5 separate regions of the Homo sapiens genome follow, and regions 1, 2, 4 and 5 are each linked to region 3. The links are contacts of gene promoters, found by promoter capture Hi-C in blood cells and fetal thymus (Javierre and others, 2016). All regions are on one chromosome and are shown on one strand. Each heading gives the region's core, a stretch centred on a gene start or on the middle of the fragment in contact. The rest is flanking DNA. Distances are from core to core; before and after follow the strand shown. Region 1 has its middle 6.1 kb from the start of WBP2. Region 2 holds the start of FBF1 (Fas binding factor 1). Region 3 holds the start of UBALD2 (UBA like domain containing 2). Region 4 overlaps MRPL38 (mitochondrial ribosomal protein L38). Region 5 holds the start of TRIM47 (tripartite motif containing 47).

Region 1 (2,700 bases), core at 182-2,681, 400 kb after region 3:
TGGGCCAAGCACATTTTGGGGATGATGCCAAACTCTTGACTCTTAGCTCCAAACCCACTATATTAATGCGCTGGGCTGTCGTAACAAGATACCACAAACCAGGCGGCTTCAACAATCAAAATGGGCCAGGTGCGGTGGCTCACGCCTGTAATCCCAGCACTGTGGGAGGCCGAGGCGGGCACATCACGAGGTCAGGAGATCGAGACCATCCTGGCTAACACGGTGGAACCCCCCCCGTCTCTACTAAAAATACAAAAAAATTAGCTGGGCGTGGTGGCGGGCGCCTGTAGTCCCAGCTACTCGGGAGGCTGAGGCAGGAGAATGGCGTGAATCCCGGAGGCGGAGCTTGCAGTGAGCTGAGATCGCGCCAGTGCACTCCAGCCTGGGCGACAGAGTGAGACTCCGTCTCAAAACAAACAAACAAACAAAAACAATCAAAATGTATTGTCTCAGTGCTGGAGACCGAAGTCTGGAATCAAGGTACGGGCAGGGTTGACTCCTTCTGAGGCTGTGAGAGCGAATCTGTCCCCTGACGCTCTCCTTGCTTCTGGTGGTTTGTTGACAATATGTAGCAATCCGTGTAGCAATCTTGGTAGCTCTCTGCCTCCCTCTTTGCACCGCCTGCCTTCTCCCTGCGTGTGTGTCTGTGTCCAAGTTTCTCCTTCTTACAAGGGCACCAGTCACGCTGGATTTAGGGCCCACCCTAATGATCTCATCTTAACTAATGATGTCTTCAACAACCCTATTTCCAAATAAGGTCACTTTCAGAGGTACTGCAGGTCAGGACTTCAACATGTGAATTTGAAGTCGGGGGGACCGAACTCAACTCATAACACCCACCCACCCAACTCAGCTTCATGGTCTGGCTGGGACTCAGAGCCACATGTCTTTGTTTTCTTAATTTTATTTTTTATTACTACTTTTTGAGATGAAGTCTTGCCCTGTCGCCCAGGCTGGAGTGCAGTGGTGCGATCTTGGCTCACTGCAAGCTCTGCCTCCTGGATTCCAGAGATTTTCTTGCCTCAGCCTCCTGAGTAGCTGGGACTACAGGCACACGCCACCACGCCCAGATAATTTTCGTATTTTTAGTAGAGATGGGGTTTCACCGTGTTGCCCAGGCTGGCCTCGAACGCCTGCCCTCAGGTGATCCACCTGCCTGGGCCTCCCAAACTGCTATGATTACAGGCATGAGCCAATGCACCCAGAGCCACGTTTCTCCATTGCCTGCTGCTCCCTGCCAGGCTCTGCCAAGAGGGGGCGCTAGAGAGGCCTGAAGGGCTGGAGAAGGCCCCAGCCTCCCATCTGCTCACTATTTTTGCCTGTATTGTACCCAGGAAAGCTTCTTCATTGGGGCAGCTGCAGTTCTTTAGCAGCAGCTGAATCCAGTTTCTACTTTTTCCAACCCTTGCAGAACCAGCTACCCTGAGCTCCCTTCAGAGGCACGGGCACCAGCACCAGCCGGCCCAGGCCCGCTCTTCAGAGGGCTGGGTTTTAGTACCCTGGGGCTCCTCTTTCAAGCTTCTGTATTATTGTTGATTTTGGTGTTTTGTTTTGTTTTTTGAGATGGGGGTCTCACTCTGTCACCCAGGCTGGAGTGCAATGGTGCGAACTCAGCTCACTGCAGCCTCTGCCTCCTGAGCGAAGCAATCCTCCCACCTCAGCCTCCTGAGTAGCTGGGACTACAGGTGCGCTCCACCACCCCCGGCTAACTTTTTGTATTTTTAGTAGAGATGGGGGCTTCACCATGTTGGCCAGGCTGGTCTCAAACTCCTGACCTCAAGTGTCCGCCGTGAGCCACCACGCCGGCAGCACTTTTTTTTTTTTTGAGTTTCACTCTTTTTGCCCAGGCTGGAGTGCAATGGCGCCATCTCGGCTCACTGCAACCTCCGTCTTCCAGATTCCAGCTATTCTCCTGCCTCAGCCTCCCGAGTAGCTGGGATTACAGGCTTGCGCCACCATGCCCGGCTAATTTTGTAGTTTTAGTAGAGACGGGGTTTCACCATGTTGGCCAGGCTGGTCTTGAACTCCTGACTCAGGTGATCTGCCCGCCTCGGCTTCCCAAAGTGCTGGGATTAGAGGTGCGAGCCACCGAGCCCGGCCCTTTCAGCAATTTTTTTTTTTTTTTTTGAGACGGAGTCTCACTCTGTCGCCGAGACTGGAGTGCAGTGGCTCGATCTCTGCTCACTGCAAGCTCCGCCTCCTGGGTTCACGCCATTCTCCTGCCTCAGCCTCCTGAGTAGCTGGGACTACAGGTGCTCACCACCACACCCGGCTAATTTTTTTGTATTTTTTTTTTTTAGTAGAGACAGGGTTTCACCGTGTTAGCCAGGATGGTCTTGATCTCCTGACCTCGTGATCTGCCTGCCTCGGCCTCCCAAAGTGCTGGATTTACAGGCGTCAGCAACTGCGCCCGGCTGCTTGCAGCAATTTTTTAAGATGACAAAATAAAACAGAAAATTTCAGAATATATCCCACTACAAAATACAAATTAAGCAGCATGTGGTGGTGGCAGGGCCTGTACTCTCAGCTACTTGGGAGGCTGAGGCAGGACCACTGCTTGATGCCAGGAGTTCAAGACCATCCTGGGCAACATAATGGAACCCCATCTCTACCAAAAAAATTTTTTAAACTAGCCAGGCATGGTGATGTGCACTTGTAGTCCCAGCTACTTAGGAGGCTGACGTAAAAAGATTGCTTGAG
Region 2 (2,700 bases), core at 14-2,513, 320 kb after region 3:
GCCTGCCACCATGCCTGTCTAGTTTTTTTGTATTTTTAGTAGAGACAGGGGTTTCACCAAGTTGGCCAGGCTGGTCTTGAACTCCTGACCTCGTGATCCACCCACCTCGGCCTCCCAAAGTGCTGGGATTACAGGCGTGAGCCACCGTGCCGGGCCAGTGTTTTTAACTGTCCACACTTACTAAATTTTCCAGTACTTCTTCCTATGGTTCATGATAGTAAACACAGAAACATATAAGGAACATTATTAGAGTTACCAGATGTTAGCTGTTGCATATGTGCACATTCCTAGATTCAAGGGTGTTTTTGCCTTAAATTTAAGTGGGTCATTGGTTGTCTTGGGAAGATCATGGAAAATTCGGGATTTTTTAGAATTCTGAACCAAAATATGTTTTGAGTGTTTCTTAGTAAATGTGTGATCTTCCACCTTCCACATTCAGACTGCGGACTACACTTCATAAATGCCTTTTTATTTCCAGTTATGGATTCAACTAAATGACTGCCTTGGGAGCACATAATTACTTTGCTACCTTTTTCCCCCTTTGCTGTTGTGGCTCGAGTTTGGTTCTCACCTGAGAAGATGCATTGAGCATATGTTGTTACCCAGCCCTGGCTTAATGGTGTCCTGTGGGGTAGGGGTGGGAGGACGAGGGGCACGGGGCCAGAGCATGTGAATGGATCATGGTTGGACAGCTGTGACCTGCCAGCACTGCGGGTAAGCAAAACTACAAACCGTTCTTTCCTCTGTGACATTGAATAAACCTTAATAAAATTCATAATTAGCACATACTAGAAAAAATGTGACTTAATCTTTTTGTGGGGCGACAGTATTGGGTTTCATTCTGGCTATACAGCTTTGATTGGATCATTAAACAGGTCAGTCACTTCCCTCAAGCTTTGGGGTGTGGAATAAACACCGGTGAATTTGTGGATTCACCCGTCAACCTCCCAATATCAACACATTTCTCACGCCTCCGCGTCGGCCACGTGTCAGCCCTCAGAAGTGGGCAGGAGGAACTTTTAAGCTTCCCGGCAGTTCCCAAGAGGGCCTTTGAGCCTGGCGCCCTCTTCCCGGAGAGGCGTTGGGGCAGCTCCTAGCAACGTGCCCGCCGCCGGCAGAAGCCCGGCCCCGCCAACTGCCGCGCGCGGCTCCCTGGGAGCTGTAGTTCTTCATGGCGTCCCCACCTCCTCTGTGAGGGCGGGTGAGTCGACCGCCGACTGCGACTCCCAGGATGCCTCGCGCCCGCCTTTCCGCGGGAGGCCAGACGGCTGAGGGTGCCGGCAGCGGCTGGAAGCGGGAGGCCAGTCCTGGCCGGGCTGGGCGACCCGAATGGAGCCAGGGCCGGCGCTGGTCCCAGCGGCCGCACCTCCGGGGGCACGGCGCGTAACAGGAGGCTTCCGGGGCTGAGAGCGTTACAGGCTGCGCTCCGGGGCCAGATAGGCCGGGCGCTCAGAAGGGTGACGCATTGAGGGGCGCGGAGTCTCGGGACGGAGGGGCGACTCCGGCTAGGGGTCTTGCTTAGGGGTGGTCTCGGGATCTGTAAAACGCCTGGCATGGAGTCGGCTGAATACATGTGGGGACGGGGTTACTCTGTAGCCCTTTGGCCTTGGCAAACCAAGCCTAGAAAATCCCCATAGTCTGAGAAGCCCGTACAGGATCGATAGGAGATGCCAGAAGTTCCTTGATGTGTTATGGGACACATTTGGACTTGTAGGTCGTGAAGTCGCCATTGCAGAGAAAAAGAAACAAGGCCGGGCACGGTGGCTCACGCCTGTAATCCCGACACTTTGGGAGGCCAAGGCGGGAGGATCACTTGAGGCCAGGCGTCTGGGACGACCCTGGGCAACATAGGGAGACCCCCGTCTCTACAAAAAAAATTTTAAAATTTGCCGCACATGGTGGCGTGTGCCTGTGGTCCCAGCTGCTAGGGAGGCTGACATTGGAGGATCGCCTGAGCCCAAGGAGGTCGAGGCTGCAGTAAGCTATGAGAGCTGTGATCGTGCCACTGCACTCCAGCCTGGGCAACAGAGCGAGACCCTGTCTGGAAAAAAAAAAAAGAAAGAAGGCCAGGCGTGGTGGCTCACACCTGTAATCCTAGCACTTTGGGAGGCCGAGACGGGCAGATCACGAGGTCAGGAGTTCGAGACCTCCTGGCCAACAGTGAAACCCCGTCTCTACTAAAAATACAAAAATTAACCGGGCATGGTGGCATGTGCCTGTATTCCCAGCTACTCGGGAGGCTGAGGCAGGAGATTCGCTTGAACCCGGGAGGCTGAGGTTGTGGTGAGCCAAGATCGCACCACTGCACTCCATCCTGGGCAACAGAGCAAGACTCCGTCTAAAAAAAGAAAAAAAAGAAAACACATGTATTCAGGGTGGGCTCTGTAGGTAAGCCCAGATAACCCTTGCATTCCAATAACAGGACAGGCCAATACTTGGGACATAAAGAGGACCCCTCTGACTCCTTTCTTCCAGGACATCCTGTAGGTGGGTTTTGGTAAAGTGGAGGAGGGGGAGGGAGACAGCTAATTCCGAGGAAAATGTTCTCAATGGGTCAGATTTACTGCCTATGTAAAGGGAAATATTTCCACTGTCAGTGAAAATCGTGTTGCTGGACGTGGTGGCTCACACCTGTAATCCCAGCACTTTGGAAGACCAACGCAGGAGGATTGCTTGAGCCCCAGAGTTCAATACCAACCT
Region 3 (2,700 bases), core at 22-2,521:
AGAGATTAAAGACACATTCCTGGCCTTATCTTGGGTCAAAATCTGTGTGTCCTCCTGGCTTGGGGGATGTATGTCCTTCCAACTTCCCAGTCCCCTTGGGCTTCGGAAGGTTGAACAGATCTTTGTGGGTAGAGCCCGGCTTCCTGAGCCAGGGTGGATTCATGCCTTTCCTGTTCCCTGTAGCGCTGGGTGTGTGTGTGTGTGGAGGGGGAGGGGGGAAACCACTCAACAGCACGAGGGGGTCCCCATAAACACAAGCACCCCCATCGCCCTCCCTGGGCCCTTCGCGCGGGCTTCCCAGTGCCCCAGACGTCCGGGCATCACCCTCTCCCCCTCCCCATCCCCTGGCTCTGGGGTCCCCCAGCTCCTGAGCCCCTCGCCAGGCCCCCGGCCCTCTCCCCCTCCCCCCAACTTTGGCGCCGCTTCCCCCCAGGGACCAGTGCCGGGCACCAGTCCCGAGGCCAAGCAGCAGCAGCCCGGGAGGCGGGCCTCAAAGTTGGAGGCGCCAGCGCCGGCCCGGGAGCCGCTCTTTCCTGGAAGACATTTTGGCTCTTTGTTTACATTCGCGGCGCGGCGCTCCCCGGCAACATGGCTGTCACCGCCGCGCTGACAGCGGCCCCGGCCCGCGCCCCTGCCCGCCGCCGCTTACCATCTGGTGGTGGTGGTGGCTGTTGGGAATGTTGGTTTCTTGGAAGAACGTGCTCAGCGCGGTCTGCGGACAAACAGGGCAGTGACACGGCGGGCCAGGCGGAGTCAGGAAACGCAGCGGCTGGGCCCCCCACCGGCTCTCCCCGCCTCCGCGCCCGGCCCGCGGCCCCCGACCCTCGGCTGCCCCACGTGCAGAGGGGAGCCGGTCCCGGCCCCGGTCCCGCGTAAGACCCGCTCGCGGGCGCCGATCGCCTTCCGGGCCGACAACAGGAGCGCTCCCCGCCCCCGCCGCCGCCCGGCGTCCCCGACCCCCGCGGCCCGGCCCCGCGGCGGCCAGGCTCGCACCTCGAACTGCCAGTGGGCCGCCTGCAGCAACTGCTTCGCCTGGTCGGCCGCGCAGCCCGCGGCCAGCACGAACTGGTTGATCATGACCTGGTGCCGCAGCTCGTCCATGTTCACCGACATGGCGCGGCGCGGCGCGGGGCCCGGCGTCTCCGGCCGGACGCAGACGCGGGGCTGCGCGGGCGCGGGAGGCCGGCCGCCCGGGGCTCCGGGGCTCGCGCTCACCGCTGCTGCCGCCGCTCCGCCGCCCGCTCCGCCGCCGCCCGCCCGGCGAATGTTGTGGTTCGACTCCCGCGGCCCGGCCGACACCACAAACAACAGCGCGGGGCGGGGCTGGGCCGGCCCAACGTTCGGGGACTGCCGCTGATTGGCCGGGGCGCCGCTCCGCCAGCGCCCGGCTCCCGTAAGGACGTTCGATTCGAATCCTGCGGCCTGTGGGGCCCTCACTGTTTCTCTTTTCGCCCGGCCGCGCCCATTGGCGGAGCTCGGCGCCGTGGGGCTCCCCAGCATTGGCCGGCCGCTGTGTTTTGGCTCATCCGGCCTCGTGGTTGGTCACGGCCGGGCGTTCGGGGCGGGGCCGCGCACTCTGATTGGCCTCCGGTGGTCCTGTTTGAACTCAACTTGAAAACCCGGAGTGCCTGCTGATTGGCCGAGGGCCCTCTGTTTGCTGTTGTAGGCTTGGGGGTGGTGCGGCCAAGTTCATTCATTACTTCATTGAAACAGAACATGCTCAGCTGGAAAAGCAAGACAGAGTGGCTTTGACTCATTTCCTCTGAAAGATGTGGTCATCTCGAGAAACAGAATGATCAAAATAGAAAACAGAGCCTTTGCAGCTGCTCAAGTCTCAAAAGCATGTAATTTTTAAAAATAACTTTCAAGCAGTCCAATTTAAAAAAATCTTTTATTGAAATATAACGTACATTAGGAAAGTGCGATGTCGCAGGTACAGCTTCCAGACTTTTCACCAAGTGAACACCCAGATCAATTAACAGAACGTTACTTGCACCCTAGGAACCCGCGTCCTGCCCTCTTCTAATCACTACCCACCGCAAGGATCGAGCAGTATTTTCTCAGTTTTTAGACCAAAGACTTTGCTCTCTGAAGATGGAAGCCAAGATTTATGTACAATAAATACGATATGCAAGGAAATATGCAAGGAAAAAAGTGAGACTTTCTCAGTGGCCAAAATGCCAAGTCAAGAATTTTTTCTTGTTAAATCGGTTGACCTAACTGAAGCTTTAATTTTCTTTTTTTTTTTTTCTCTTGCTTGTCACGAAAGCTAAGATGAAGCTTTAATTTCTACCATCTTTTAAAAAAACAACGGGTGGCAGTAGGGGTGGAGTCTGGGGTTGGGATGGCTTACACCTATAATCCCAGCACTTTGGGAGGCCGAGACAGGAGGATAACTTGAGGCCGGGAGTTCAACACCAGCTTGGGCAACATAGCACAGACTCCATCTCTACCAAATAAAAACAAACAATAACAAACAGTGAGTGTTTCTACAGAGATACTGTTTCTCAGTGGTAGCCCTTTAAAGTCCAAAATTTGGTGGTGGTGGTTGTTAGATAGGGCTAGAGTGACATGATCATGGCTCACTGTAACTTCGAGCGATCCTCTTGCCTCAGCCTCTCGAGTAGCTGGGACTACAGGCACACACCACCATGCCTGACTAATTTTTGAATTTTTGGTAGAGATGAGATCTCACTATTG
Region 4 (2,700 bases), core at 15-2,514, 360 kb after region 3:
CCCAAAGTCTCCCGGACCCAACAGCTACTGGAACGGAAACAGGCCATCCAGGAGCTTCGGGCCAATGTGGAAGAGGAGCGGGCTGCCCGCCTCCGCACAGGTAAGCCTTCTCAGGGGAGGGGCCATCCCAGAGTTGGGGTACAGGGTGTGTCCCTGCCCCCCCCACCCCCGTATCCCAACTGGCCTTATTCCTGTCTAGCCAGTGTCCCGCTGGATGCCGTGCGGGCCGAGTGGGAGAGGACCTGTGGCCCCTACCACAAGCAGCGTCTGGCTGAGTATTACGGCCTCTACCGAGACCTGTTCCACGGTGCCACCTTTGTGCCCCGAGTCCCCCTGCACGTGGCCTACGCTGTGGGTGAGGATGACCTGATGCCTGTGTACTGTGGCAATGAGGTGACTCCAACCGAGGTAACCACTCACTTGTGCCCCTCCTCCCTGCCCTGTGCAAACACAGACACATCCCATCTCAGTGTCACAGACACTCCTGGGTTTGGAATTTTGTTGTTCTCTGTCTCTTTGATTTCCTGGAAGACGACACCATGACAATTTCAAAGAAAATAGAACAAAATGAAGGAAAAAGAGGCTCTGTCTTAGCACATTCCTGTGACCAGCCTGCTGTCTGTGGTGTGCCCTCCTGGCCCGGCCTTGGCACATGTTCGTTTTTGTGGTTGTTGCCTGGACAGGCAACTCTGCAGGGCTGCTTCTCTACGCATCCCTTTGCCTGCCTGCCTGTGCCAGGGGTTGTCAAGGGCTTTTGGGTCAGAGTGGGCACCCCTTTCTCCAAGGCTCCCTGCAACAGCTGGCCTGTCCCTGGTGGGGCTGACAGCTTCCTTCTCACCCTGCCAGGCTGCCCAAGCGCCAGAGGTGACCTATGAGGCAGAAGAGGGCTCCTTGTGGACGTTGCTACTCACTAGCTTGGGTGGGTGTCTGGGGCTCACCAGGCCTCCTGCCCCGCTCACCTCCTATGAGCCAGGGCCCTGGGGGGCTGGGGGAGGGGCCAGGTGGAGATCTCCAGCGCTGGCTCCTAACAAGGGAGGGGGTGGCAGGGCCGTGGTCGGCTGGGCCGTGGTCAGCAGGTGTGTTTTTGTGCAGATGGGCACCTGCTGGAGCCAGATGCTGAGTACCTCCACTGGCTGCTGTGAGTACTGGAGTACTGGGGGTAGGGGGTGCTGCCCAGGCGGGAAGAGGAGCTGGGAGCCTGGACTGAGCTGCTCCTGAGTTTCATGGACTACCCATGGGACCTTGAATTCACCTGCCACCTCTGCCTCCTGAGGGTGTTAGGGGCCCTGGGATCCACGTGTCTACTTGAAGACAGCTACAGGAGACAAAGTTTGCAGTAGGCCTCGGTCAGTCCCCACAAGCCTCCTCATCTTTTCTTTTCTTTTTTTTTTTTTTTTTTGAGACAGGGTCTCACTCTGTCCCCCAGGCTGGAGTACAGTGGTGCAATCATGGCTAATTGCAGCCGCTAACTCCTGGGCTCAGGTGCTCTTCCCACCTCAGTCTCCTGAGTAGCTGGGACTACAGGTGCAAACCACTACACCCAGCTAATTTTTGTATTTTTTTATAGAGACAGGGTTTCACCATGTTGCCCAGGCTGGTCTCCTGAGCTCAAGCGATCTGCCCGCCTCCGCCTCCCAAAGTGCTAGGATTATAAGCGTGAGCCACCATGCCTGGGCCCTTCGTCTCTAAACTCATTTCTTCACCTGTAAAACTGGGATAATGGCACCACATGCCTTACTCAGCGTGAGGTGGACTGTGACAGTCACGTGGGAGAAGGAGCGGGAGAGGCCTAGCAGCTGTGGCGTCCCCCAGGTGCTCCTTGAACCACTGGGCGCTCCTTCCCTGGGCCCAGACTGGGCGGCCTTCCATCTTGGTAGCTTTTGGCTCTGAACACCAGGCCAGGGGGCAGAGGTCAGGCCAGTGACCCCAACTTTGAGCCTTCTGGTTAACTGGGGACAGTGACTGGGAGGCTGGTTTCCGTCATTTTTATTCAACTGTTACCAGCCTATGCGGCAGGACCCTCTGGGGATTTGTGCCTGAGGCGTTGGCCGCCCCTGTGCCAGGCTGGGCACACACTCCCTGACGAGGTCCTGGAGACTTCAGGACGCAGAGGGAAAAGCAGCCAAAAGTGGCCTGGCTTTCTAGCCTCAGTGACTGTGGCGGACCCACCGGCTCCCGGGGCCTGGAAGCGGCTGCATGGCCTTGCTGTCAAGCTGATGCTCTCTGGAGCCCTGTCCCCCACTCGGAGCTCCTCCAGCCCGCTTCCCGTATTTGCAGCATGTCCCGGCGTTCACAGAGCTTGGCTGCCTCCTCTGTCCCAGGAGAGAGATGCTTAGAGCTGTCCTCCCAGGGAGTCATGTCAGCCTCTAGGGTGTGCATGGAGCTGAGGGGACACTCCTGCTGCCTCCCTGGAGTGGTAATTAACCGGGACTTTCCTCCTCCCAGAACCAACATCCCGGGTAACCGGGTGGCTGAAGGACAGGTGACGTGTCCCTACCTCCCCCCCTTCCCTGCCCGAGGCTCCGGCATCCACCGTCTTGCCTTCCTGCTCTTCAAGCAGGACCAGCCGATTGACTTCTCTGAGGACGCACGCCCCTCACCCTGGTAATCTACACCACCCACACATAACCCGGCCTCAGGCCAGCTCCCCTGGAACGGTCACTCTTGCTCAGTTCTCTCTTGACCTCAGCCTTGAGACTG
Region 5 (2,700 bases), core at 201-2,700, 390 kb after region 3:
TGTAATCCCAGCACTTTGGGAGGCCGAGGCGGGTGGATCACCTGAAGTCAGCAGTTCGAGACCAGCTTGGCCAACATGGTGAAACCCCGTCTCTACTAAAAATACAAAAATTAGCCAAATGTGGTGGCGGGCGCCTGTAATCCCAGCTACTCAAGAGTCCGAGGAGGGAGAATCGCTTGAACCCAGGAGACAGAGGTTGCAGTGAGCTGAGATTGCGCCACTGCACTCCAGCCTGGGCGACAAGAGCGAAACTCCATCTAAAAAAATAAAAATAAAAAAACATTATTTGGAATTTTCAATGCGAAATATGTCTGTTCTCCCCAGCTTGTTAATTTATTATTTATTTATATCGGCATGGACTCATAGATGTTTATTTTACACTTTGGGTTATAATCAGTGCTACTTTACTTATTTTGTTGTCATTCTGGTGTAGTGTTTTAACTTAACATTATTGAGATATAACTCATACAATAAAACGCACCACTTTAAGTGCATAATTAGATGAGCTTTAAATACTTCCAGTTGGGGAACCCCCAACCCCACCACAGGTGTCCCCAGTGTCCAGGGGCCAGAACTACATTCCTCAGACAAGGGACTTAGGGAATGACGTCAACTTCCCATTTCAGGTCTAGAAAAGTCCAAGTTCCCTACTTGGGGTAAAGAGTCGCTAAAGGAGCTGGGCGCTGTGGCTCACGCCTGTAATCCCAGCACTTTGGGAGGCCGAGGCAGGTGGATCACCTGAGGTCACGAGTTCAAGACCAGCCTGGACAAGGTGAAACTCCGTCTCTACAAAAAAATACAAAAATTTGCCTGGTGTGGTGGCAAGCGCCTATAATTCCAGCTACTTGGGAGGCTAAGGCAGGAGAATCACTTGAATCCGGGAGGCGGAGGTTGCAGTGAGCCGAGATAGCGCCCCTGCACTCCAGCCTGGGCGACAAGAGAGGAACTCTGTCTCAAAAAAAAAAAAAAAAAGAGTCGCTAAGGGGCAAAAACATATGTACATCAGCAGTTATTTTTCTCTGCAGTCAGCAGCTCAGGAACTTTGCTAAGGGTGCCAGGGAGGGGTCGAGCGCAAAGGTGCAGGCATGACACAGCTAGACGCGCCCAGCCCCTGCGGAGCGCTGGCCTGGCCCAGAAGGACCAGAGGGATGGAGGCTGAGTCCTTCCCATTCCTTCCACTGTACCTCTCGCGTTCTCCGCCCGCGCTCACTCAGTTTCACACCCTTTCAGCAGCGCCCTTCCTTAGGACCACGCGGACTCCCCTGGGGGTCGCGCGGGCTCGGAGGCCTCCCTGCGTTGTCTGGGCGGGGACTGGGAGTCCGCGGGCCCGCAGGCGGGCGGTGCTGCGGGGCGGGCCGAGCTGGGGGCGGGCGGGGGCCGGAGCCCTGGCCTAGGTCCCAGGGGGAGGTGCCGCGGCGCGAACGGCCCGGGTCCCTCCCAGGCCGGAGCACAATCGGCGGCGCCCTGGGCGGCCGCGGAGTCATGGACGGCAGTGGACCCTTCAGCTGCCCCATCTGCCTAGAGCCACTCCGGGAGCCGGTGACGCTGCCCTGCGGCCACAACTTCTGTCTCGCCTGCCTGGGCGCGCTCTGGCCGCATCGTGGCGCGAGTGGAGCCGGCGGACCCGGAGGCGCGGCCCGCTGCCCGCTGTGCCAGGAGCCCTTCCCCGACGGCCTTCAGCTCCGCAAGAACCACACGCTGTCCGAGCTGCTGCAGCTCCGCCAGGGCTCGGGCCCCGGGTCCGGCCCCGGCCCGGCCCCTGCCCTGGCCCCGGAGCCCTCGGCACCCAGCGCGCTGCCCAGTGTCCCGGAGCCGTCGGCCCCCTGCGCTCCCGAGCCGTGGCCCGCGGGCGAAGAGCCAGTGCGCTGCGACGCGTGCCCCGAGGGCGCGGCCCTGCCCGCCGCGCTGTCCTGCCTCTCCTGCCTCGCCTCCTTTTGCCCCGCGCACCTGGGCCCGCACGAGCGCAGCCCCGCCCTCCGCGGACACCGCCTGGTGCCGCCGCTGCGCCGGCTAGAGGAGAGCCTGTGCCCGCGCCACCTACGGCCGCTCGAGCGCTACTGCCGCGCGGAGCGCGTGTGTCTGTGCGAGGCCTGCGCCGCACAGGAGCACCGCGGCCACGAGCTGGTGCCGCTGGAGCAGGAGCGCGCGCTTCAGGAGGTGGGCTCCGGGGGCACACTCGGGTGAGCCGGGGCTGGTGACCGACCGCGCGCGAGCGGGCCGAGGACCTTGGACCCCCCAGTCTTCCCGGGTTGGGTCTTAATCTCCTCCTCTAACCTGAGGATCTTTGCGGTCCCTTCCAGCCTTGACAAGGTCATCTGCTGGCGGTGATGGAGATGGGAAGGGAGGAAGGAGGGACGTGAGAACAGGACAAGGACGCGAAGAGCGGGCAGGGGACCTGAAGCCGGGCCGGGGTCTATGGGGGTGTAGGCGGGAGGGAGCCGGGTTAGGCCCGCGGGGTTCCGGTAGCGTGGCTGCTGCTCCCGCCCGGAGGGTCACGCCGGTCTCAGCTCAGATTTGCCCTGGGCTGAGGCAGCAGCTTTCGATGGGTGTGGCAGGCGGCAGGAGGGCGGCAGAGGGCGACCGGGCACACAGATTCTCTGTCCAGCTGTTCCGGGGGCCAGTGGTGGGAGCATGTGAGCCGCGGCCTCTACCTCCCGCCCCCAGTTTCCTTTGGCCTCCAGCCCGGTCTTGGCGCCTCTG

Evidence for each region. The method cuts DNA at HindIII sites, captures the fragments that hold promoters and counts their contacts. A CHiCAGO score of 5 or more calls a contact.
Region 1: a contact is called between a fragment that was not itself captured here and the fragment with the promoter of UBALD2 in region 3, in 1 of 17 cell types (erythroblasts). The highest score is 5.4, in erythroblasts.
Region 2: the fragment with the promoter of FBF1 here is called in contact with the fragment with the promoter of UBALD2 in region 3 in 1 of 17 cell types (endothelial precursors); the score reaches 5.4 in endothelial precursors.
Region 4: a fragment that was not itself captured here is called in contact with the fragment with the promoter of UBALD2 in region 3 in 4 of 17 cell types (endothelial precursors, naive CD4 T cells, neutrophils and 1 more); the score reaches 7.7 in endothelial precursors.
Region 5: a contact is called between the fragment with the promoter of TRIM47 here and the fragment with the promoter of UBALD2 in region 3, in 10 of 17 cell types (fetal thymus, erythroblasts, endothelial precursors and 7 more). The highest score is 8.8, in fetal thymus.

Annotation. Positions count from the first base shown.
Region 1 is chr17:75,860,045-75,862,744 of GRCh38, reverse strand. No RefSeq gene overlaps it. Among named protein-coding and RNA genes, the nearest start is that of WBP2, 6.1 kb to the right of the region's middle. The HindIII fragment of the contact is 179 bases long and covers 1,342-1,520 here.
Region 2 is chr17:75,939,605-75,942,304 of GRCh38, reverse strand. It overlaps FBF1 (Fas binding factor 1), which reads left to right and starts at 1,263. Exons shown (of 30, transcript NM_001319193.2): 1 at 1,263-1,457. ACOX1 (acyl-CoA oxidase 1) reads left to right here. Exons shown (of 14, transcript NM_004035.7): 14 at 1-798. RefSeq lists an enhancer at 1,045-1,114 and a silencer at 1,225-1,494. The HindIII fragment of the contact is 5,734 bases long and covers 1,027-2,700 here.
Region 3 is chr17:76,263,919-76,266,618 of GRCh38, reverse strand. It overlaps UBALD2 (UBA like domain containing 2), which reads right to left and starts at 1,271. Exons shown (of 3, transcript NM_182565.4): 1 at 994-1,271; 2 at 650-712. The coding sequence starts at 1,113. LOC105371896 (a long non-coding RNA gene) reads left to right here and starts at 1,538. Exons shown (of 6, transcript XR_007065913.1): 1 at 1,538-2,700. RefSeq lists enhancers at 459-558, 1,819-1,868 and silencers at 729-868, 1,169-1,468. The HindIII fragment of the contact is 2,310 bases long and covers 1-2,228 here.
Region 4 is chr17:75,899,420-75,902,119 of GRCh38, reverse strand. MRPL38 (mitochondrial ribosomal protein L38) reads left to right here. Exons shown (of 9, transcript NM_032478.4): 3 at 1-100; 4 at 200-408; 5 at 847-919; 6 at 1,093-1,138; 7 at 2,446-2,604. Among named protein-coding and RNA genes, the nearest start is that of TRIM65, 3.8 kb to the right of the region's middle. The HindIII fragment of the contact is 3,542 bases long and covers 1-2,700 here.
Region 5 is chr17:75,877,331-75,880,030 of GRCh38, reverse strand. TRIM47 (tripartite motif containing 47) reads left to right here and starts at 1,450. Exons shown (of 6, transcript NM_033452.3): 1 at 1,450-2,157. The coding sequence starts at 1,483. It also overlaps a transcript of TRIM65 not described here. RefSeq lists silencers at 1,266-1,615, 1,746-2,125, 2,136-2,315 and enhancers at 1,160-2,075, 2,076-2,700. The HindIII fragment of the contact is 18,500 bases long and covers 1-2,700 here.